Regions from separate parts of the Homo sapiens genome. Here region 2 is linked to region 1. The links are contacts of gene promoters, found by promoter capture Hi-C in human tissues and cell types (Jung and others, 2019). All regions are on one chromosome and are shown on one strand. Each heading gives the region's core, a stretch centred on a gene start or on the middle of the fragment in contact. The rest is flanking DNA. Distances are from core to core; before and after follow the strand shown.

Region 1 (5,658 bases), core at 2,706-5,205:
TTGCCAAGTGCCTGCACGGTTCTCATACACCATAAACGAAGGCCATTCTTTCCAGTTTTTAATTTGGTGACTAATAGTGTCCACTAAGAAAACAATACCTTCCCAATTTCTCGGGGGGGGAAGGGGCTGAACTAAGAAAAAGCGGACCTATGATTACTGCTGTTTTCATTTTTTTAACTGTTGTTTTTAAAATGCAACATAAGATGCATATAAAGCAAGTGAAAATAAAATTCGGGTTCCACGTAAACTTTGTGTCTCTTCACTGTTTGTAACCTTTCCAGACTAAGTCCCTATTGACTATATTTGCATAAAACTATTTATCTCATTTTGAATTGTTTTGTCTCTGTGTCACTCTCACGTGTTTATTTACCTCCTGCTGCTTCCATTTTGTAAACTGCCGAGAGGCTGTGTGTGCCTTAAGGGCCAGCTTTAATAAATTGCATTTGTTGTGTATTTGTTTTTAATTTCCCCAGATACTTCTGTGTCAGCTATTGCAGGTGACACCCTCAAAACAGCACGGGGATATAAGTCCGAGAGCACCAAATGTCTATACTGTGTTTTCTGCAGTTCCATTTTCAAAAATCGCAAACACATCCTGGAAAGTGTTGTGCCCTTCAAAGTCATTCATAAAAATTTCTTCTAGAGTCAAGATATTTGAAGCTAAAATTTCCCTGGTCTCATTCCAGGTTGGTGACATATGGCAGTGGCAGTGTTAGTTTCGGAGTTAGCTTTTGTTTTTGTTTGCAGTCTCTCCCTACTCTTGACATCCTCCTTCCGAGTGGAGTCAGATTTGAATGAATGAAAGCGAGCAAGAGCATTGTTTGCCATCTGGGCACCAACTACCATTTCAGCCTTGTTGCCCCGGTTGCCCTTTCCTCACCATAAACTTCAACCGAATGTAACAATATGGTAGGAGAGGGATCTCATTAAGCCTCATATCGTAGATTCTACACACTGGATTTTGTGTATAATAGCCATTCCTACTGGAGAGCAGATAATAGTGTTTACCACTGGATAGTTCCCATGTCCTGTGAATCTATGCTTAGTGTTATTGAAAAACTGCATTTACAAAGTGTTTCAGACTTGCCTTCCAAGCATCATTTCACTTCATTCATAACATTCTATGAGTCGGCACTAGTATTACCTGGATTTAGAGTTGAGAAGCAGAGCACCTAAAGGGTAAGTAATTGTCCCAAGGTCGTTGGGGAACTAACTGGCACCGGGATTCCAACCTAGGTTCCAAAGCCTGCCCTCCATCTCCTCAGGGGTCCGAATTCTAGAAGAGGAGATATTTGTGTCCACTAGATGGTGCTGATTGTCCTCTTAAAAAAAAAAATTGGCAGCCACTTTCAGAAACACGTTCCTTTGGATTTTAGGTGTAATTCAAGAAACCACTGAACTGAAGTATCTTGTATGTCTGAATTGTGCCTGGATGCATCTTTAAATAGCCACCCAAATAGGAAAAGTGAAAATTTGATCTCAAAAAAACTGCATTTTTTAAAATGTTAGTACCTATAAATAATATCAAAAAACCATGGTGACTTTGAGACTCTGAAAATTCTCATACATCTGTATTTACATTAAATCAGTAGACTTAAGAAGAAATACATGTTTTATTCCATGTACCCCTTTTATACCAACTGTACTCCCTCCAGCATCTCCCAATCCTGCTTGGCCACAATGCCATCCATGCCAGCAAGGGTCATGAACAGGGAAGTAAATAAAGCCTGAAAAAAACAACAATCAGATTCTGGAACAGGTAACACTTTTTTCTTTTTCTTTTTTTTTTTTTTTTTTGAGATAAAGTCATGCTCTTTCACCCAGGCTGGAGTGCAGTAGCACAATGATCATGGCTCACTGCAGCCTCAACTTCCCAGGTTCAAGCAACCTCCCACCTCAGCCTCATGAGTAGCTGGGACTACAGGCATGCAACACCATGCCCGGTTGAATTTTTTTTTTTTTTTTTGTAGAGGTGAGGTCTCCCTATGTTGCCCAGGCTTAATGCTATTATTATTGAAAGTAAAATACATGTTAAGTATATGTTTCATATGTGCTTAGTACCTTATTTTAGTACATTTTTTAGAACTTAAAAGCTGTGAAATAAACCCGATTCAAATGGGTTGTCAGATTTTGTTGTTGAGAAGGATCAGTTCAGGTGTTATTTAAAATATTGATTCTAGTCCCTATTACATGATTCAGTGGGTCTGGAATGCAGACCAGGAATCTGCATTTTTAACAAGTCCCTTGGTGCTTGTGGTACAGATGAACCACTGACTTCAAGTTAATGTTTTAGAGGGTAAATAGTGGTGAGGACATTGCTCCTGGAGGCACCATGGAGCCCCCTGCAGCTGTTCTACACGGAGGCTGTGAACAGTGACATCCAGCACTTCCTTTGTAAACAGCAGGCTAGAGACTGAAAAATGCTCTCCCTGTAGAACTCTTTCCCTCCTCTCCCTGTCTGCTGTGGAGTGCTGCACAGAATTAGCTGCTGGTCAGTGGATGTCTCCATTTTTTAAAAGATCAAGCTTACAACTTCTCAATGCCTATTGGTCCAAAAACAGTGATGACTTTAGGTTTGTTTTCAGTTAAAGAAGTTAGATCATGTATTGTCATATAACTATTCAACTGGCTCGAGCGATCCGAATGTCAACCTAGGGGGCCACAAACTTCCAGGACATTGTGAAATTGTGTAAAAATCAGTGCACACATACACACACACACACACACATAGCAGTGCAGCTACATGTTTCTGGCCTAGAGGGTTGTTTTTAAAGATAGTAAAGTAAATCAATGAAAACGAAGGTATGTTATAATATCCAGAGTCATTTGCAGGGGGAAGGTGTCATGTCAAGTGGGCCCTAAAGCAATCAGCTCTGCCAAGTGAGTCATTCTCACCAGAAAGGAGAAAAAAATCGGTTTCTCTTCTTTTCTAAGGAAATTCCCTCAAAGTAACAGACTGCTTAACTTTCTCATGATCTTACTGGCTACAAAGTTTGGTCACCCGCAGCAACTCTGTACCTGTAAAGATTTAAAGAGTTGGCAGAAACTTCCCAAGGCCAGCTGCAGTTTCAGTTGCTGGATGCCCACTGAGATTAGTGTCTCGCCCCTGTCAGCTGAATGGATGTGACACTGCTTGCGCATAATGGCTGAAATTGCACTGCAACTATCAATCCTGGGCTGAAACCAACAGATTCTGAACATTGCCCATGCATTGGGTTTCATGCTTCATGCTTTCAACCTACAGGTAAGCTTGTCTCTGAGTCCAAAACCTAACTTCAGTATTGAGCTTGGTCTCTCTGATCCCATAGGGGTTTGTTAGTTTGTTGTTTTAAATTGGATCTCCTGATCTGTGTACTTGGTTGAGGTAAGCAGGTCTATGCAAACCTACCCCCAAAGGCCAAGGAAGCTGAGAGGCCAATGAAAGAAGCTGACAAGTCCAGTTTCTCAGAAAGAAACATTCAATAAGGGCTTACAAACAGAAGCCATGTCTCTGGCGGCCAGAGAGACAGTGGATCCCCGCAACTGCCCTCCAGAAAGCATCTTTTATATAGCAAGATTTTAGGGAAAGATGTGCAGCCAGTCATGCCTCAGGCCTTCTTGCAAAACTCATGACCCCTGGGGTGGTTAGATAAGCATCTCTATGAGAGTTTATCTATGCTACAGGAACACATTGGTCATCTTGCTATGCAACAGGCCGTTTTCCTACAATACTAAAATGAAGCTTTAGTATATAGTTATGTAAGCCTTCATTATTATGTAAACCTTTGTACATATTTTAACAAAAAATAAAGGAAGCTAAAATAATTAAGATGCCATATTAGAAACATTCAAATCAAATATTTAGGGTGTTAAGCAGCAAGGTAAGGAAATGATTTTTCTCAGAGTTAACATCTCAGACATAAAGAAATAAGAAGTAAACCACCCCAGGGGTTTGTTCATCAGTCATGGGTCAGGCTGCCACAATGTTTAAGTCTCATCCTGGCATTCTTAGCTTCTCACTTTATTTCTTACACAATCTTTTTCTTAGCTGGAATCCAAAGTAATGTTTCTATCTGAACATACAGTGTTTATTACACTAGGAACTAGTCATCATTTTGAAGACTTGGTTTTCTTGTTTACATTTTTAAAATTTGATCATCCAAACTCCTTTCTTAATAGAAGCTGGCTTATTTTCCCCTTATTTTGCCATAATAGGCAAACTAAAATTAGTGCTTTAATTTTGTTCAAAATTTGTGATGTTTTATATTTTTGTAATTCATCACTGACACACATTTTAAAATACACATCTCTGGATTTTCTGTCCTGTCTTTGCCAAGAACAGTGTGGCCTGGGCCTAGTCTCTTAACCTCTTTCCACCTCAGTTTCTTTGTCTAGTAAATAAGAGGTAGATAAAGGTTTCTACCACTACTTCCAGCTCTGAGACCCTGTGATTTTCTGATTTAAGCAGTCTCTGCTCTCTTTGGAAATGACCTGCTTCTCAACCCAACATTCATAACAATGTAAAAGGCATCTGCTCAACGTGCATGGCAGCAAGAATTACTTGTTTAGAAACATCTGGGTAATGGTAACAACCATCTGTCTTGTCCCTGCAATTGTCGAACAAAGAATTAAGCAAGCAAAACCACAAGAGAAGTGCCCTATTTTTATAGAACGATGCAATAGAACAGAATTTGTTTAGGTTTTATGAGAGTTGCATATGTATCCCACCTCTGTTATGGAACGGCAAGCCTCTTCACCTCTGCAGACTTCAGTTTACCAGCCTATCTGTCAAACAATGGGAAGATAACTCTCTAGCACTGTTCCTTATTTTGTTGAAATAGAGAAATTAATATGTTCTTGAGACACTATACTGAATTTTTCATTGCACTTGTTAATAAAATGAGTATTTTCATGTCAAATAACAGCAACCATCCAATCCATGCTGGAGAATGAAAGAAAAGCAGATGAATTATCAGGTTCAATTCATATCTGGTGTGCATTAAATGCTCATCTATCTTGTATAGCTTGCTACAGATGATGGTATTTTGGTGAAAATTGCCAACAATTTTTTAAATGAATCTAGAGATCATTACCTGGACCCAAATTTGTGAGAATTTTGCATTCGGGTGGACACTTGCATCCATGCATTCAATTTTCTATCATTCATTGGTCATTTTTTCTGAGTTAAATCCTCTAGCGAGGGCCGGGCACGGTGGCTCACGCCTGTAATCCCAGCACTTTGGGAGGCAGAGGCGGGCGGATCACGAGGTCAGGAGATCTAGACCATCCTGGCTAACACGGTGAAACCCCGTCTCTACTAAAAAATACAAAAAATTAGCGGGCGTGGTGGTGGGCGCCTGTAGTCCCAGCTACTCAGGAGGCTGAGGCAGGAGAATGGCGTGAACCCGGGAGGCGGAGGTTGCAGTGAGCGGAGATTGCGCCACTACACTCCAGCCTGGGCGACAGAGCAACACTCCGTCTCAAAAAAAAAAAGAAAAAAAACCAAAAAACCTCTAGCGAACTATTTCTGGGCAAGTGAACTTTTCAGCATTTCTCTAATCATGCCTAATTGCTCAGAGATTCTGACAGGGATAGGAACAAGATGGTCACATGAATCTTCTCCAACTCCTCACCTCCATTCCTTTGAGATAAAAAGTGTTGGAAGTCAGGGGGATTTCT
Region 2 (6,194 bases), core at 3,332-5,831, 590 kb after region 1:
CCATCATAAGGAGAAAAATCAGTTGAAACCACTACAGCTGACACCTATGTGAGAATTAGACAAGGACACTAAAAGAATTATTATAACTGTATTCCATATGTACTAAGTAGAGACTAGGAAGATATTTTTAAATACCCACTTTGAATTTTAGAGACGAAAACTAAAATGTCTGAGATGATGGGGTGGGTGGGGTAGGCAGAAAGAGGAGGATGGGAAGAAGTACCAAGGGGAAGGAGGAATGATTTGGGGATGACGGCTGTGTTTATTATCTTAATTGTGGTGATGGTTTCACAGGTATATGTAATTTCTAAACTTATCAAATTGTACACTTAAAATATGTGGTCTATGGAATGTTAATTATATCTCAATAAAGCTGTTAAAATTGTACTGAAACAAAACCATTGGGGGAAACTGGGTAAAGAGTCCAAAGGACCTCCCTATACTATCATTGTAACTTCCTGTCAATTATAACGATTCCAAAATAAAGAATTTAAAAGTGTTTTTAAAATTAAAAAAAAAAAGTCTGAGATGGAAAATCACTGAATGGAATTAACAACAGTTTAGACGTTGCAGAAAAAACAGTAGTGCACTTGAAGACATAACAATAGAAATTATCCAAAAAACACCAAGAGAAAGAATTTTAGAAATGAATACAAAGGGCTAGGCGCAGTGGCTCATGCCTGTAATCCCAACACTTTGGGAGGCTGAGGCGGGCGGATCACCTGAGGTCAGGAGTTCGAGACCACCCTGGCCAACATGGTGAAACCCTGTCTCTGCTAAAAATACAAAAATTAGCCTGGTGTGGTGGTGCATGCCTGTAATCCCAGCTACTCAGGAGGCTGAGGCAGGAGAATCGCTTGAGTACGGGAGACAGAGGTTGCAATGAGCCGAGATGGCACCACTGCACTCCAGCCTGGGCAAAAGAATGAGACTCCATCTCAAAAAAAAAAAAAAAAAGAAAAAAGAAAAGAATACAAAGTATACACAATGTGACCAGGTGGGTGGCTCATGCCTGTAATCTCAGCACTTTGGGAGGCCAAGGTGGGAGAATCAGTTGAGGCCAGGAGCTCCCGACCAGCCTGGGCAACATAGCAAGACTTCATCTCCACAAAAAAATTTTAAAATTAGCCAGGCATGGTGGCACGTGCCTATAGCCCCAACTACTTGGGACGCTGAGGCAGGAAGATCGCTTGAGCCCAAGAGTTGAAGGCTGCAGTGAGCTATGATCGCACAACTGCACTCCAGCCTGGGAAACCAAGCGAGACCGTATCTCAAAAAAAAAGAAAAAAAGTATACACAATATACAACAGGCAGAAAGTATGTCCTTTACAATGATTTAAAGTTATGAAAAAAATTTAAGCCAGGTGAGATAGTGCATGCCTACAGTCTTGGCTACTTAGGAGGCTGAAGTGAGAGGATGGCTTGAGTCCAGAAGTTCAAGGCTACAGTACGCTATCTATGATCACACCTGTGAATAGCCACTGCACTCTAGCCTGGGTGACATAGCAAGATCCTGCCTCTAAAAAAATAAAAATAAAAGTAAACTTAAATTTTAGGTATCAAGTGAAAACAGGCAAGAGGGTTTTTTTATTTTTTTATTTTGTGGGGGCGCATGAATAAAGGAATTTAAAGATGCTACTCTGGATCCCATCTTCCTTCTTCCTTGCTCCTGAGTATCCTTTCCCTCTGTTCTGCTGGCTCGTTCCTATCAGCACACATATCCACAGCTTTAAGGAAAGCTTCCTTTGACCCCCATAACCCATCTCCAGTTACTGCCCAGTTGCTCTGCTCTTTTTGCAACAGACGCCTGGAGTTCTGCCATCTCTGCTTCCTCATCTCCCACGTACTCTTCAACCCATGCCCATGTGACTGCCACTCCAAACGCTCCACCAGCATTCCTCTTGCTAGACTCATCATGACTTCTCTGTTGCTAAATTCATTGGATGCTTTTCGTTCTCATTCTGCTTGCCCTTTCAACTATTTTCAATAGTTCACCACTCCCTCCTTCAGCAGCTTGCCACTTCCTCCTTGGATTTTGGAACACCACCCTTTTTTGTTTTCTTCTCACCTCTCTGGCACTTCTTTATCAGGTTTCTTGGCAAGCACCTTATTACCATTGCAACTTTTAAATGCAGGTGTCCCTGTCCTTGGCCCAAAGGCTCTCTGCACACTTCTTCTCTTGAGCTCATCAAATATCAAGGTTTTATTTTATTTTTTATTTTATTTTGTTTGAGACAGAGTCTCGCTCTGTCACCCAGGCTGGAGTACAGTGGCACCATCTCGGCTCACTGCAACCTCCACCTCTGAGGTTCAAGTCATTCTCCTGCCTTAGCCTCCCAAGTAGCTGGGATTACAGGCATGCACCACCATGCCTGGCTAGTTTTTTGTATTTTTAGTAGAGATGGAGTTTCACCATGTTGGCCAGGCTGGTTTCGAATTTCTGGCCTTAAGTGATCCCACCTCAGCCTCCCAAAGTGCTGGGATTACAGGTGTGAGCCACTGTGCCTGGCCATTTTTTTGTATTTTTAGCAGAGACGGGGTTTCATCATGTTGGCCAGGCTGGTCTCGAACTCCTAAATATCAAGATTTTAAGTACATTCATATGTCAACAACTCCCAAGGGTGTATCTCCAATCCAGGCTCTCTTCTGGGCTCAGGGCCTGTATTTCCAATTGCCTACTTGACCACTCCACCGGAATGCCTCAAAGATATGTCGAGGTTTTCCACGTTCAAAACCCAACTCTCAATCTCCCCCAGCAGAAAATAGTGACTCTATCCACACAATTATTCAAGCCCAATTATTCGAAAAGAAAAAGGACTGGGCGTGGTGGCTCACGCCTGTAATCCCAGTACTTTGGGAGGCCGAAGCGAGCAGATCACCTGAGGTCAGGAGTTTGAGACCAGTCTGGCCAACATGGTGAAACCCCGTCTCTACTAAAAATATAAAAAATTAGCCAAGCGTGGTGGTGGCACTGTAGACCCAGCTACTCGGGAGACTGAGGCAGGAGAATCGCTTTAACTCAGGAGGCGGAGGTTGCAGTGAGCCGAGATCGTGCCACTGCACTCCAGCCTGGGCAACAGAGTGAGACTCCGTCTCCAAAAAAAAAAAGAAAGAAAAGAATATATATATAAAGTATATATAAATTGAGCCAGGTACAGTGGCTCATGCCTGTAATTCCAACACTTTGGGAGGCTGAAGTGGGAGGATCATTTGAGGCCAGGGGTTTAAGACCAGCCTGGGCATCATAGCAGGACCCCATCTCTACAAAAATTAGCTGGGTCTGGTGGCAGGCACCTTTAGTCTTAGCTACTCAGGAGGCCGAGGTGGGAGGATCTCCTGAGCCCAGGAGTTCAAGGTTGCAGTGAACTATGATTGCACTCCAGCCTGGGCAACAGAGTGAGACCCTGTCTCAAAAAATAATAATAAAATAAAATAAAATATAAATTGGATGACACTCTCCTGCTATAATACTTCAGTGGCTTTCCATTACTTTTAGATAAAATCTAATCTCTATACCTTGGCCTGTAAAATCTGTCTTTTGACTGCTTATTTCTCCAGCTTTATCTGTACCACTCTCTTCCTATCTTTCTGTGCCTATAGAAGAACCCATTTCTGCCTTGGGACTTTGCATTTTCCCCTTTCCCCAATGAAATTAACTCCCTCTCCTTCCTTAATCAAACATCATCTCAGAGAGGTCTTCCCTGAGCCCCCAATATAATCTAAGTTTCCCTGCTTTTCTATCTTATACGATTTTGTACTTTTTCTTCATAGTGTGTGTGTTTTGGTTTGATTTTTGAGATCACGCTCTGTCACCCAGGGTGAAGTGCAGTGGCGCGATCTCCGCTCACTGCAACCTCTGCCCCGCCCAGGGTCACATAATTCCCCCACCTCAGCCTCCAGGGTAGCTGGGACTACAGGAGCATGCCACGACACCTGGCTAATTTCTGTATTTTTTGTAGAGACGGGGTTGCACCATGTCGCCCAGGGTGGTCTCAAACTCCTGGACTCAAGCAATTCACCCGCCTCCACCTCCCAAAGTGCTATAATTACAGCTGTGAGCCACTGTGCCCAGCCTTCTTCACAATTTCACCACAATCCGTAAATATATATTTATTTATGTGATTATTTGTTCACTGTCTGTTTTCTAAGTTGTAAACTCCAGGAGGGCAGAGCCAAGGTCAATCTTGATATTTGCCCTCCCTCACTCCCTTCCACCCACTGAGAACACTGTTGGGTAATCAGCAGGTACTCAATAAATGCCAGATGAAATGAATGAGCTAGTGCATTTAGTAATGGAAGCTACCCTGTTTATTGGGAGTAGCTTTGAATCACTACTGAAAATCTGGATAAGTGCTATTAAAATTAGGACCTCAGGTAGGTGCCTCAGGTATCTCAGCCCATAGGTCCTTTTCTTCAAGCCTCACCTGCCACTCTCCACCTGTAACGTGTAGTTTTCATCCAAATAACCTGTGCTCCTGGCAATATCCCTAACAATCCCAAACTAAATAAAGAGGATTGTGACATGGACCCTAAATGTCGCCACGTTTGCGTCTCCATCCCGGAATATGACGCTGGTAGCTCATTAGCTCCATTCAAGCCTACAAATTGCATCACCCTCCTCCTCTGCCCAGACCTGGGGGCTCCAACACCTTTCGCTAGGTCTGGCTCTGGCCTCTGAGCGAACCTTCCGTACAGTATGGCGGCTCCCGAAGCCCCGCCCCTGGACAGAGTTTTCCGTACAACATGGCTGTCTACAGAGTGCGATTCCCACCCACTTCCGCCTAGCTACCGGAAGTTTCTATTTGAAACCCAGGCGGCCGACTTAGCCGGTGGCACGACAGTTGCTGCAGGGAATCTTTTAAACGAGAGCGAGAAGGACTGCGGGCAGGACCGGCGGGCTCCTGGGTTCGGCTCTCCCGGGGCGAGGGACTGGGCTGGATGGGAGGAAGGACGGAATGAGCTGGGAAAGGAGGATTTTCTCTTTTCCAACCCCGAGCCGGGGCCTGTCGGGTCGCGCTATCCCCGGGCCCTCCACTCTCTCGGGCCCAGTGGCCCAGCGCTGGGTAACATTCATCCTGTACCTTCCAGGGTTCAGCCGTGCCGCCTCGTTACGATGACCAGTGTGGTTAAGACAGTGTATAGCCTGCAGCCCCCCTCTGCGCTGAGCGGCGGCCAGCCGGCAGGTGAGGGTCCAAGCCACGCCCGGGGCACTGCGGCCTGGCCGGGGATGGTCTCGGGAGTGTGGAGATCGAATGGGTGGCGCGGGCACGGGGAAGGGCGTCCCGTCGGCCCTGAAAACCTGTGAGCCCCCTATAACCAGGCTATGTAGGTTTATGATGGGAGTTAAGGGAAGGACCATGTGGTAGGATTTTAGACGTGCTCTGCACTTTTCTGCCCGCATGTGTACTGTATTCATCAGTTAGATTCAAGTTGTTGGTTATTGTACAATGTTATTCCCATTAAGCTAGGAATCCCCTTCTAATCGGTTATCGTCTTATTTCCAGACTTGGGCTATCTTGAGGGATTGGGTTTGTTTTCAGGGAGGAAAGAGGAGAATCATTTGAGAAGTGGGATACTTAGGGTTCTTTGTTCACCTTTATATCTGCACCGTGTTTCTCATTACCACATTCTCAATACACGTTTGTTGAGTGAAGTGGGAGAGAGGGGTTAGACCTAGGCACAGTATTTGAGAAACTTGGGCGAAGAGAGAGACATGATTAAAAATAGTTTTTAATTGCTTTGCCATCTGCTTTGTGTTGCTTTGCTTGTGGTTGAAAGTCATCTCATGGGGTCTGCAGTCGGGGAACTGCCTAATCTAGAGATTATAGTACAGAGTAAGCTTCAGACATCAGAAAACTGTTGTGGGAGATTATGGAGTAGCTATTTATGATCCCTTCCCAGATGATTCCACTCAGCTGGTACATAAACCTTGGCAAGATGGAGCGCTGAAGTGGCCAGGCACGGTGGCTCACGCCTGTAATCCCAGCACTTTGGGAGGGCGAGGTGGGCAGATCACGAGGTCAGGAGATGGAGACCATCCTGGCTAACACGGTGAAGCACCGTCTCTACTAAAAAATACAAAAACTTAGCCGGGCGTGGTGGCGGGCGCCTGTAGTCCCAGCTACTTGGGAGGCTGAGGCAGGAGAATGGCGTGAACCCGGGAGGCGGAGCTTGCAGTGAGCCGATATTGCGCC

The links. Contacts are between HindIII fragments. The study calls those that stand out against the background at their distance.
Region 2: a contact is called between the fragment with the promoter of KNSTRN here and a fragment that was not itself captured in region 1, in 2 of the 25 tissues and cell types used here (IMR-90 fibroblasts and lymphoblastoid cells).

The regions. Positions count from the first base shown.
Region 1 is chr15:39,785,371-39,791,028 of GRCh38, forward strand. LOC105370941 (a long non-coding RNA gene) reads left to right here. Exons shown (of 1, transcript NR_135665.1): 1 at 1-247. Among named protein-coding and RNA genes, the nearest start is that of FSIP1, 5.4 kb to the left of the region's middle. The HindIII fragment of the contact is 5,703 bases long and covers 1,105-5,658 here.
Region 2 is chr15:40,378,140-40,384,333 of GRCh38, forward strand. It overlaps KNSTRN (kinetochore localized astrin (SPAG5) binding protein), which reads left to right and starts at 4,582. Exons shown (of 9, transcript NM_033286.4): 1 at 4,582-4,905; 2 at 5,089-5,183. The coding sequence starts at 4,697. DISP2 (dispatched RND transporter family member 2) reads left to right here. Exons shown (of 8, transcript NM_033510.3): 8 at 1-482. RefSeq lists enhancers at 3,460-3,960, 4,586-4,655, 4,615-5,138, 4,904-5,073, 5,139-5,660. The HindIII fragment of the contact is 15,043 bases long and covers 1-6,194 here.